Linked DNA regions of Homo sapiens: region 1 is linked to region 2. The links are contacts of gene promoters, found by promoter capture Hi-C in blood cells and fetal thymus (Javierre and others, 2016). All regions are on one chromosome and are shown on one strand. The core of a region is centred on a gene start or on the middle of the fragment in contact, and the rest is flanking DNA. Distances in the headings are between cores, read along the strand shown. Region 1 overlaps PTGS1 (prostaglandin-endoperoxide synthase 1). Region 2 holds the start of PDCL (phosducin like).

Region 1 (5,542 bases), core at 1-2,500, 430 kb before region 2:
GGTTCCAGAGGTATTCCTCTCTTAAATGCAAGTGCCTAGATTAGGTAGACTTTGCTTAGTATTGACAACTGCACATGAAAGTTTTGCAAAGGGAAACAGGCTAAATGCACCAAGAAAGCTTCTTCAGAGTGAAGAATCTTAATGCTTGTAATTTAAACATTTGTTCCTGGAGTTTTGATTTGGTGGATGTGATGGTTGGTTTTATTTGTCAGTTTGGTTGGGCTATAGCACACAGTTATTTAATCAAACAGTAATCTAGGTGTGGCTGTGAAGGTATTTTGTAGATGTGATTAACATCTACAATCAGTTGACTTTAAGTGAAAGAGATTACTTAAATAATTTGGGTGAGCTGCACCTGATTAGTTGAAAGGCCTCAAGAACAAACACTGCAGTTTCCTGGAAAAGAAGAAACTTTGCCTCAAGACTATAGCCATCGACTCCTGCCTGAGTTTCCAGCCTGCTAGTCTGCCCTATGGATTTGAAGTTTGCCAACCCCAACAATTGTGTGAATTAATTTCTAAAAATAAAGCTATATACAGCCATCCTTTGGTATTTGTGGGGGATTTGTTTCAGGATCTCTACAGATACCAAAATCTGTGGTTCCTCAAGTCCTTTATATGAAGTGGTATAGTATTTGCATATAACCTATGTGCAATCTCCTGTATAACTTCAATCATCTCTAGATTACTTATAATACCTAATACAGTGTAAATGCTAGTTGTTATACTGTATTTTTTCTTTGTATTATTTTTATTGTATTTGAATATTTTGATCTGCATTTGGTTGAATTCACAGATATGGAACCCATGGATATGGAGGATATGTGCACATATATTCAGGACTGAATATATATATTATACATATATATACACACAGAACTGAATATATATATATATATATACACACACACGACTGAATATATATATATATATATATATATATACACACAGGACTGAATATATATATATATATACACAGGACTGAATATATATATATATATACAAGACTGAATATATATATACATATACAAGACTATATATATATATTCAAGACTGACTATATATATATTCAAGGCTGACTATATATATTCAAGACTGACTATATATATATTCAAGACTGACTATATATATATATTCAAGACTGACTCTCTCTCTATATATTCAAGACTGAATATATATATATATATATATTTCTATCTCTCTAATAATACAAGAACAGAAAACCAAATACTGCATGTTCTCACTTATGCGTGGGAGATGAATGATGAGAATACGTGGACATATGGTGGGGAACAACACATGCTGAGGCCTGTCGGAGGGTGGGAGGTGGGCCATCAGGAAGAATAGCTAATGTTAATACCTAGCTGATGGGATGATCTGTGCAGCAAACTACCATGGCACACGTTTACCTGTGTAACAAACCTGCACATCCTACACGTGTAACCAATATATGTATATTATTATTCAAGTTCCAATAATCAAATAATACACAAACCACTGTATTATTTGATTATTGGAAATCAAATAATAATAATAATAATAATAATAATAATAATATACATATATTCTGTTGGTTCTAATTCTCTGGAGAACCCCGACTAATACAATGGGTGATTCATTCAGGACTCTCAATGCAAACAACAGAACATTCTCTAGCCTGTATAAGCAGGAAGGAATTTATTATAGGACATTACATAGCTCATGGAGCCACTGGGAGGACCAGGGAATTAGGCTTGGAGGGTTTGCACCTAGGAATGGTGGCCACTGTCCAGTGGAGATGCCTCTACTACTGCCATGGACACAGCATCTCAAATGACACCTTTGCTGCCCAAACCCCACTACTGCTGCCTTCCAAAACAGGCTGCTTCTACAGCCACTTTTGCTGGAAAATGGAATCTGTGTGATACTTGCTTCCTCTCTTTTCTCTACTTAGAATTAAAATTATCTTTATTTTGTGTCGGATTGGTGGAGCCCAGCTCATGTGTCTGTACTGCAGCTACAAGAAAGAATGGAAAGTGAGTTTTCTGGTTTGTGCCTTGAAAAGGAGGAACCCATGATAAGGAAAATTCCTCATACATAGGGAAGGTGTTCAAAGGGGCTGGGAAACGTGGAAAGTCTGCTTCAGTGAATCTGAATTTTCTTAGTTCTGTTCTGCCTCTGTGGGCCCTATCCCTAGAATGTTACAAAGACCATCACAATGGCCTTACTGTTGACCTGGTAGCAGCTCGATATAGTTGCAAGCAAAGAGCTTAAGAAGTGAAGTTATGTAATTATAGAACAACAGAGAAACAAAGACTGTTGGGTACACACAGTCCACTCTTTTAGTAATTTTTGAGTTAAAAAAAGTGTCAGAAACGCAGGAGGCAGAGCAAGAAGGCAGAATAGAAGCTTCTACCAATTGTCTTCCCCACAGGAACACCAAATTTAACAACTGTCTACACAAAAAATGCACCTTCATTAGAACCAAAATTCAAGTGAATGATTGTAGTACCTGGTTTTAACTTTATATTACTGAAAGAGGCACTGAGGAGGGTAGGAAGGATGGTCTTGAATTGCCAGAGCCATCCCTCCCCGATCCCTGGCAGCAGCCACATGGCACAGAGAATCTGTGTAGGGAGAGTGTAGTGGTTGTAGGACTTTGTGTTAGAACTCAGTGTTGCCTTGTTACACTGGAAAGCAACACCAGGCAGAACTCAGCTAATACCCATGAGGGAGAATTTAGATCAGCCCTAGCCAGAGGGGAAGCATCCATCCCAGTTGCTGAATGGGCTAAAGGGCTCTGGGGTTCTAAATAAACTTGAAAGGCAGTATAGGCCACAAGGATTACAACTCCTAGGAAAGTCTGATCTGCGCTTGGAGCCAGTGGACTTGAGGGGCATGTGACCTGCTGCGATAGCCAAGGGAGTGCTTGTGCCACCCCTCTCCCAACCCTAGGCAGTGCAACTCACAGCTCTCAAAGAGACTCCTTCCTTCAGCTTGAGGAGAGAAGAGTAAAGAGGACTTGTCTTGCCACTTGGATACCAGCTCAGCCACAGTAGTTTAGGGCACCGGGCAGAGTCCTGAGGCACCCATTCCAGGACCTAACTTCCAGATGACATTTCTAGACATATCCTGGGCTTATATGGGCCATATAAGGCAGAAGGGAACCTGTTGCCTTGAATGAAAGGATCTAGTCCTGATAGTATTCACCACCTGCTGACTAAAGTGCCCTTGGGCCCTGAATAATCAGCAGCAGTAGCCAGGTAGTACACACTATGGCCCTTGAGTGAGATTCTGAGATGTGCTGACTTCAGGTGTGACCCAGCACATTCCCAGCTGTGGTGGCTATGGGGAGAGACTCCTTCTACTTGAGAAAAGCAGGGGGAAAAGTAAAGGGGATTTCATCTTGCAGCTTAGGTACTAGCTCGGCCACAGTGGGGCAGAGCACCAAGTGGGCTCTCAGTATCCCTGATTCCAGGCCTTGGCTCTCGCACAGCATTTCTGGACCTGACCTGGGCCAGAGGGGAGACCACTGCCCTGATACGTGAGTCCTAGGTCTGGCAGCATTCACCACAAGCTTCCTGAAGAGCTCTTGGCCTTGTGTGAACATTGGTGGTAGCCAGGCAGTACTCCCCATGGGCCTGTGGTGGTGCTGGCCATGGGGAGAGACTCCTCTGCCTGTGGGAAGGGGAGGGATGAGTGGGAAAGACTTGACTTGTAGCTTTGTCTGCAGCTCAGCTGCAGTAGAATAGAACACAAGGCAGATTCTTAAGATTTTCAACTCCAGGCTCTGGTCCCCAAACAGCATCTACGGACCTGCTTGGGGGAACTCGCTGCCCTGAAGGGAAGGACACAAGCTTGGCTGACTTACTGCCTGCTAACTGCAAAGCCCTAAAGCCTTGAGTAAACAAAGGTGGTGGTAGCCAGGTAGTGGTTATAATGGGCCTTGGGTAAGAAACAGTGCTGTGCTGGCTTCAGGTCTGACCTAGTGCAGTCCCAGTGGTGGTGGCCACAGGGGTGCTTGTGCCACCCCTCCCCCAGTTGTAGGCAGCTCAGCACAGAGACAGAGAGACTCTGTCTGTTTGGGAGAAAGTAAGGGAAGAGAACAAGAATATCTGCCTGGTAATCCAGACAATTCTTCCAGATCTTATCCAAGACCATCAAGTGGTACCTCTACAAGTCTGCAAGAGCCACAGCATTACTGGGCTTGGGGTGCCTCCTAATGCTGATATGACTATGGTGACCAAAAACTTAGATGACAACACCCAAGTCCCTTCGAATACCTGGAAAGCCTTCCCAAGAAGGCTTTCCCAAGAAGCCCAGACTGCAAAGACTACCACAAATATCTAACTTTTCAATGTCCAGACACCAGTGAACATCCACAAGCATCAATACCACTCAAGAAAACATGACCTTACTAAACAAACTAAATAAGTCATCAGGGATTTATCCTAGAGAGATAGAAATATGTGATCTTTCTCTATCTCTCAGAGAGAGGTCATATATCTACACCTCTAGGCTTTTCAGACAGAGAATTTGAAATAGCTATTTTGAGGAAACTCAGTGAAATACAAGATAATACAGAGAAGGAATTCAGAATCCTATCAGATCAATTTAACCAAGATATTGAAATAATTAAAAAGAATCAAGCCGAAATTCTGAAGCTGAAAAATGCAACTGACTACTAAAGAATGCATCAGAGTCTCTTAATAGCAGAATTGATCAAAGAGAAGAAAGAATTAGTAACATTTCTATGTGAAAACAGTGAAAATTCTGAAAATAGTAATCCCATTTACGATAGCTACAAATAAAATTAAGTACCTGGAAATTAATCAAAGAAGTGAAAGATCTTGACAATGGAAAATAAAACACTATGAAAGAAATTGGAGAGGACACACGAAAAACAGAAAAATATTCCATATTCATAGATTGGAAGAATCAACATTGTTAAAATGTCCATACAACCCAAAGCAGTCTATAGATTCAATACAATCCTTATCAAAATACCAATGACATTCTCCATATAAACAGAAAAAACAATCCTAGAATTTATAGAGAACCACGAAAGACCCAGAATAGCCAAAGCTATCCTAAGCAAAAAGAACAAAACTGGAGGAATCGCATTACCTGACTTAAAATTATACTACAGAGATATAGTAACCAAAATAGCATTATACTGGCATAAAAACAGACACATAGACTAATGAAACAGACTACTGAACCCAGAAATAGATCTATACACCTACAGGAACTCATTTTTGATAAAGTTGTTAAGAACATACATTGGGAAAAGGATAGTTAATCTTCAATAAATGATGCTGGGAAAACTGAATATCCATATGCAGAAGAATGAAACTAGACTCCTATCTCTTGCCATATACAAAAATAAAATCAAATTTTGAATTAAAAGCTTAAATCTAAGACCTCAAACTACAAAACCACTATGCAAAAACTCTGTGGAAACTCTCTAGGACATTGAAGTGGGCAAAGATTTCTTGAGTAATACCTCACAAGCACAGGCAACCAAAGCAAAAATGGATAAATGGGATCACATCAAGTTAAAA
Region 2 (5,189 bases), core at 156-2,655:
CCCACCAGCTAAGACTGCTGCCTAATTGAAAAATTGTTTAAGTATCCTCAGGAAAAACCCCAAAAAGAGGCATCAAGAGTACAATGCTGAGTCACTATTTGTCTAGGCAATCACTCTCTGTCACCAGCCTTCAACTTCCCAGACAACACCCTGAGGGCTTGGATGGATGGTCTCTGAAACGCTACCTATTCTGACAGTTTAAAAGAAGGGCCCATACAAAGATTTTAATAACTCCCAAGGGTTTAAAGGACTATGATGGCCGGGCTCGCGCAGGTAATCCCAGCACTTAGGGAGGCCGAGGAGGGAGGATCACTTGAGACCAGGTATTCGAGACCAGCCTGGCTAACATGGCGAAACTCTTGTCTCTACTAGTAAAAGCAAACAAACAAACAAACAAAAATTAGCCAGGTGTGGTGGCGGGTGTCTGTTTTCCCAGCTACTCAGGAGGCTGAGGCACGAGAATCTCTTGAATCCGGGAGGCGGAGGTTGCAGTGAGCCAAGATCACGCCACTGCACTCCAGCCTGGGAGACAGAGCGAGACTCTGTTTCAAAAAAAAATAAAAACTAAAAATATAAAGGACCAGGCTTCTGCATCAGAAGTAGCCAAGGGCATTCTGATGAAAAGATGCAGCTTAGCCCCCAGAGGCCTGCTTGAGAATTCAGCAGGAATGCGGCTGCCTTAAAGACTTATCACCGGGCCTATCATACTCCATTTACAAAGTGACTCTCTCCCACCGGGCAAGGAGTTCTTGAACGTAGGGACCTCTAGTCACTACCTCTATCCCCAAAGCCCAGCACAATGCCGCTGCACAATTTGCTAAACTCGCAGCCTGGGTCAACGGGAGAATCGGAGGACTCCAGCAGTCAGATGCAAAGGAGACAGGGATCATGGAGAGACAGGTGGAGGTGCCAAGAAGGAACAAAACCAAACTTAAGGCCCAGGAATGGGCCAAGCGGGGGACACAGCAGCGGCGGAGGGGAGGGAAGGAGTTGCGCTCCTAAAGGAGGGACCGCTGCGGGGAGGAGACGAGGGCGGGCCCCCTGGAGACGCGAGCAGAGGAGGCGGGGCCCCCGGACGGGAAGCAGAGGGGTGTGTGGAGCTTTTGGGGGAAGGCTGGAAGGGCCCGGGGGAGGTGGGGCCAGAGGAGGAAAGGGGACGAGGAAGACGCGGAGAACTTGGGGGTCGAGACAGAGCGAAGAAGGGGCAGTTTTACCCAAGCTCGCCAACCCCACTCCCTCCCGTAGTCCGCAGCTGCTGCCGCTTCCCGGTGGACCCCAATGCAGTTACCTGCCCTAGCTCGCTCCGGATCCCTTTGGGCCAGCAGCTCCGGGCGCCGGAAGGAATGGAGCACTTTCTTAAGAGGAAGAGCAGTGGGTCAGCGCCCTGAGCGCTAAAGAGAAAAGCCGCCGAAGCCCGACAGCGCGGACCAATGAGGCGGCCTTCCTGCGTCGTGGCGGACGCGCATTGTCCAATCAGAAGCCGCTACTCCCAGCTGAGGGGCAGGGGAGAAGCTACGGGTCCTACCTTGGAACAAAACACCTCGACAACAACGCTCTCCTAATTGCTTTGTTTTGGTTTTAATCTGCACAACAAAAAAGTGAATTGTATGACCCAGCGTCAAGCAATAAGAAAAATGTATTCACAGGCCGGGCGCGGTGGCTCACGCCTGTAATGCCAGCACTTTAGGAGGCCGAGGCGGGCGGATCACTTAAGGTCATGAGTTCAAGACCAGCCTGGCCAACACGTTGAAAACCCGTCTCTACTAAAAATACAGAAATTAGCCGGGCCTGGTGGCCGACGCCTGTAATCCAAGCTACTCGGGAGGCTGAGGCAGGAGAATCGCTTAAACCCAGGAGGCAGAAGTTGAAGTGGGCCGAGATCGCGCCACTGCACCCCAGCCTGGGCGACAGAGCGAGACTGTCTCAAAAAAAAAGAAAGAAAGAAAAGAAAAATGTATTCACTTCCCTTCGAAGTTTCCGAAGCCATTCAAAGTGTGTTTTTTATTGGTTCTTCATCGCATCACGTCTATTAGACGGAAAAGTGACTCAGAGACGTTCGGTAATTTGCCCGAGAGCACAAATCCCTCAAGTACAGGGCATAGATTAAAATATATATATATATTTTTTTGACGGAGTTTCGCTCTTCTTGCCCAGGCTGGAGTGCAGTGACGCGATCTCGGCTCACTGCAACCTCCGCCTCCCGGGTTCAAGAGATTCTCCTGCCTCAGCCTCCAGAGTAGCTGGGATTACAGGCGTCCGCCAGCAGACCCGGCTAATTTTTTCTATTTTTAGTAGAGACGGGGTTTCACCATTTTAAAGAAGCGGCAGCCAGGAGTGGTGGCGCGCGCCTGTAGTCCCAGCTACGCAGGAGGCTGAGGCGGGAGGATCGCTCAGCCCAGGACTTGGAGGCCAGCCTGGGTGACAGAGCAGGAATGTAATGTGAAATCCGGAATTGGCTCCTGGTATAGAAAAAGGACATGGGGCCGGGTGCGGTGGTTCACTCCTGTAATCCCAGCACTTTGGGAGGCCGAGGCGGGCAGATCACCTGAGGTCAGGAGTTCGAGACCAGCCTGGCCAACATGGCGAAACCCCGTCTTTACTAAAAATACAAAAATTAGCCGGGCATGGTGGTGCACACTTGTAATCCCAGCTACTCGGAGGCTGAGGCAGGAGAATCGCTTGAACCCGGGAGGCGGAGGTTGCAGACAGCTGAGATCGCACCACTGCACTCCAGCTTGGGGGTCAAGACTGAGACTCCGTCTCAAAAAAGAAAAATAAAAAGGACATGAATGGGACAACTGACGAAATTTGAATAAGGCCTATTAATTCATATTAGTAGTATTGTATCAATAGTTTTAATAATTATACTATGTAAGATGTGAACTTTTGGAGATTCTATTAGATGAAGAATCTAGGGAAGCACTATCCTATTTTTGCAACTTTGTTTTCTTCTTCCAGGGTAAAGCCATACTATGATATTTTGCAACTTTTTTTTCTTTTTCCTCAGGCATACTTTGTCGTCTGTTTTTGCAACTTTTTTAAAACCTAAAATGATTTCAAATTCTGAGCCCTTGTTGAAGTATCCAATACACAACCGTGAAGTTGCTCATAGAAAGCTTTGGGTAAATTGAATCATAGAAAATATTCTAGAAAGATACACTGTTTAAAATAGGGCTCTTAATTTGGGGTAGGGGATCTTAATTTGTGGTTCTAGGACCACCTGAAATTGTCTGCAAATTTCTGTACCTGCCTGTTTTCAGAGAGGCTGTTTGCTGAGGCCCTCAGAGGAGTCAAAAAATACCACACACAAACACACACCCATTCAAGAATACTGTATTAATAAGTCCGTTTTCATACTGCTGTAAATAAATAACCCAGTGTCAGGCAGTTCATACTGCTATAAAGAACTGCCCGACACTGGTTTATTTATTTATTTATTTATTTAAGACGGAGTCTTACTCTGTTGCCAAGGCTGGAGTGCAGTGGCGCAATTCTCGGCTCACTGCAATCTCCGCCTCCCAGGTTACAGGCTCCCGCCACCACGCCCGGCTAATTTTTGTATTTTTTAGTAGAGACGGGGTTTCACCGTGTTAGCCAGGATGGTCTCGATCTCCTGACCTCGTGATACACCCGCCTCGGCCTCCCAAAGTGCTGGGATTACAGGCGTGAGCCACCGCGCCCGGCCATATTCAACCTTTTTTAAAAAAAGTAGAAATGGGGTCTTGCTATGTTGCCCACGTTGGTCTCAAATTCAGACCTTTTAATATATTCAGTCTCCTGGTTGTATAGATATAGTGATGTCTTTGTTGGGAATGTAGCTTGCATCTGTCAGGAATATGTGTACATGAGTTAGCTATCTAATAATATCCAACAGAACCACTCATTTTTCCTGTTAGAAATGTGGAATGGGCCAGGCATGGTGGCTCACACCTGTAATCCCAGCACTTTGGGAGGCCGAGGTGGGCAGATCACGAGGTCAAGAGATCAAGACCATCCTGGCCAATATGGTGAAACCCCGTCTCTACTAAAAATACAAAAATTAGCTGGGCATGGTGGCGCACGCCTGTAGTCTCAGCTACTGGGGAGGCTAAGGCAGGAGAATCGCTTGAACCCAGGAGGTGGAGGTTGCAGTGAGCTGAGATTATGCCACTGTACTCCAGCCTGGCAACAGAGTGAGACTCCGTCTCAAAAAAAAAAAAAAGAAATGTGGAATGATGTGGATAATGAAGTTTCTGTTTAATGAGCATACTGTATGTAATTTATAGTTTTAAAGGTATTTTACCGCTACTGTAAGGTTTTTGTTGGGCTGTTTATCAGTAGAGTATATTAAAGGTATTCCCTAGTGGGGAAAACAACCCATGAGCTGTCTTGTGACGGCTAAAGCATTTATCTTTAAGCAAGGGAAACCTTGATCCAACCAGATTTATAGGCTATTTTTAAAAATATTTAAAATTTTGAAGTAACTGAATGAAATTCATATATAAGTGATTAAATAGGCCGGGCACGATGGCTTATGCCTGTAATCCCACCATTTTGGGAGGCTGAGGCAGGCAGATCATTTTAGGCCAGGAGTTCAAGACCAGCCTGGCCGACATGGTGAAACCCCATCTCTACTAAAGATACAAAAATTAGCCGGGCTGAGTGGAGCATGCCTACTGTAATCCCAGCTACTTGGGAGGCTGAGGCAGGAGAATCACCTGAACCCGGTAGAAGGAGGTTGCAGTGAGCTGAGATCATGCCACTGCACTCCAGCCTGGGAGACAGAATGAGACTCCATCTCCACAAAAAAATAAATAAATAAATAGCTAGATAAATAAATAAAATAAATGATTAAATTCCTTGAAGCATGAGTTCCAAGACTTGATCCACTCTTACAGTTTTTCCAAATCATAACAGAGGCAAAACAAGATTTGGTCTTACAATGAGTTTCTCATGTTAGATTTTTTCTACCAATATTTTTGTAAATTTAGAACAAATTTGTCCTGTTACTTTATTTTTTCTATAAGAATTAAAGGTCCAGAGATGATTTTGAATGACACCAAACCATATGAGGACTGTTTGAGATAAACAGCTTGCCCATCTGTCTTGTCTTTTCTTTCTTTTTCTTCATTTCCTGAATTCTTTTATTTTTCTTTTCCTTCCCTTCCTTTCTCTTCCCTTGTGCCTTTTCTGCTCCCTCTCCTTTTGTC

The links. The method cuts DNA at HindIII sites, captures the fragments that hold promoters and counts their contacts. A CHiCAGO score of 5 or more calls a contact.
Region 1: a fragment that was not itself captured here is called in contact with the fragment with the promoter of PDCL in region 2 in 1 of 17 cell types (M1 macrophages); the score reaches 5.6 in M1 macrophages.

The regions. Positions count from the first base shown.
Region 1 is chr9:122,395,162-122,400,703 of GRCh38, forward strand. It overlaps PTGS1 (prostaglandin-endoperoxide synthase 1), which reads left to right. Exons shown (of 11, transcript NM_000962.4): 11 at 1-542. Among named protein-coding and RNA genes, the nearest start is that of PTGS1, 27 kb to the left of the region's middle. The HindIII fragment of the contact is 2,269 bases long and covers 117-2,385 here.
Region 2 is chr9:122,827,183-122,832,371 of GRCh38, forward strand. PDCL (phosducin like) reads right to left here and starts at 1,406. Exons shown (of 4, transcript NM_005388.5): 1 at 1,289-1,406. RefSeq lists an enhancer at 1,308-1,602. The HindIII fragment of the contact is 3,273 bases long and covers 1-3,114 here.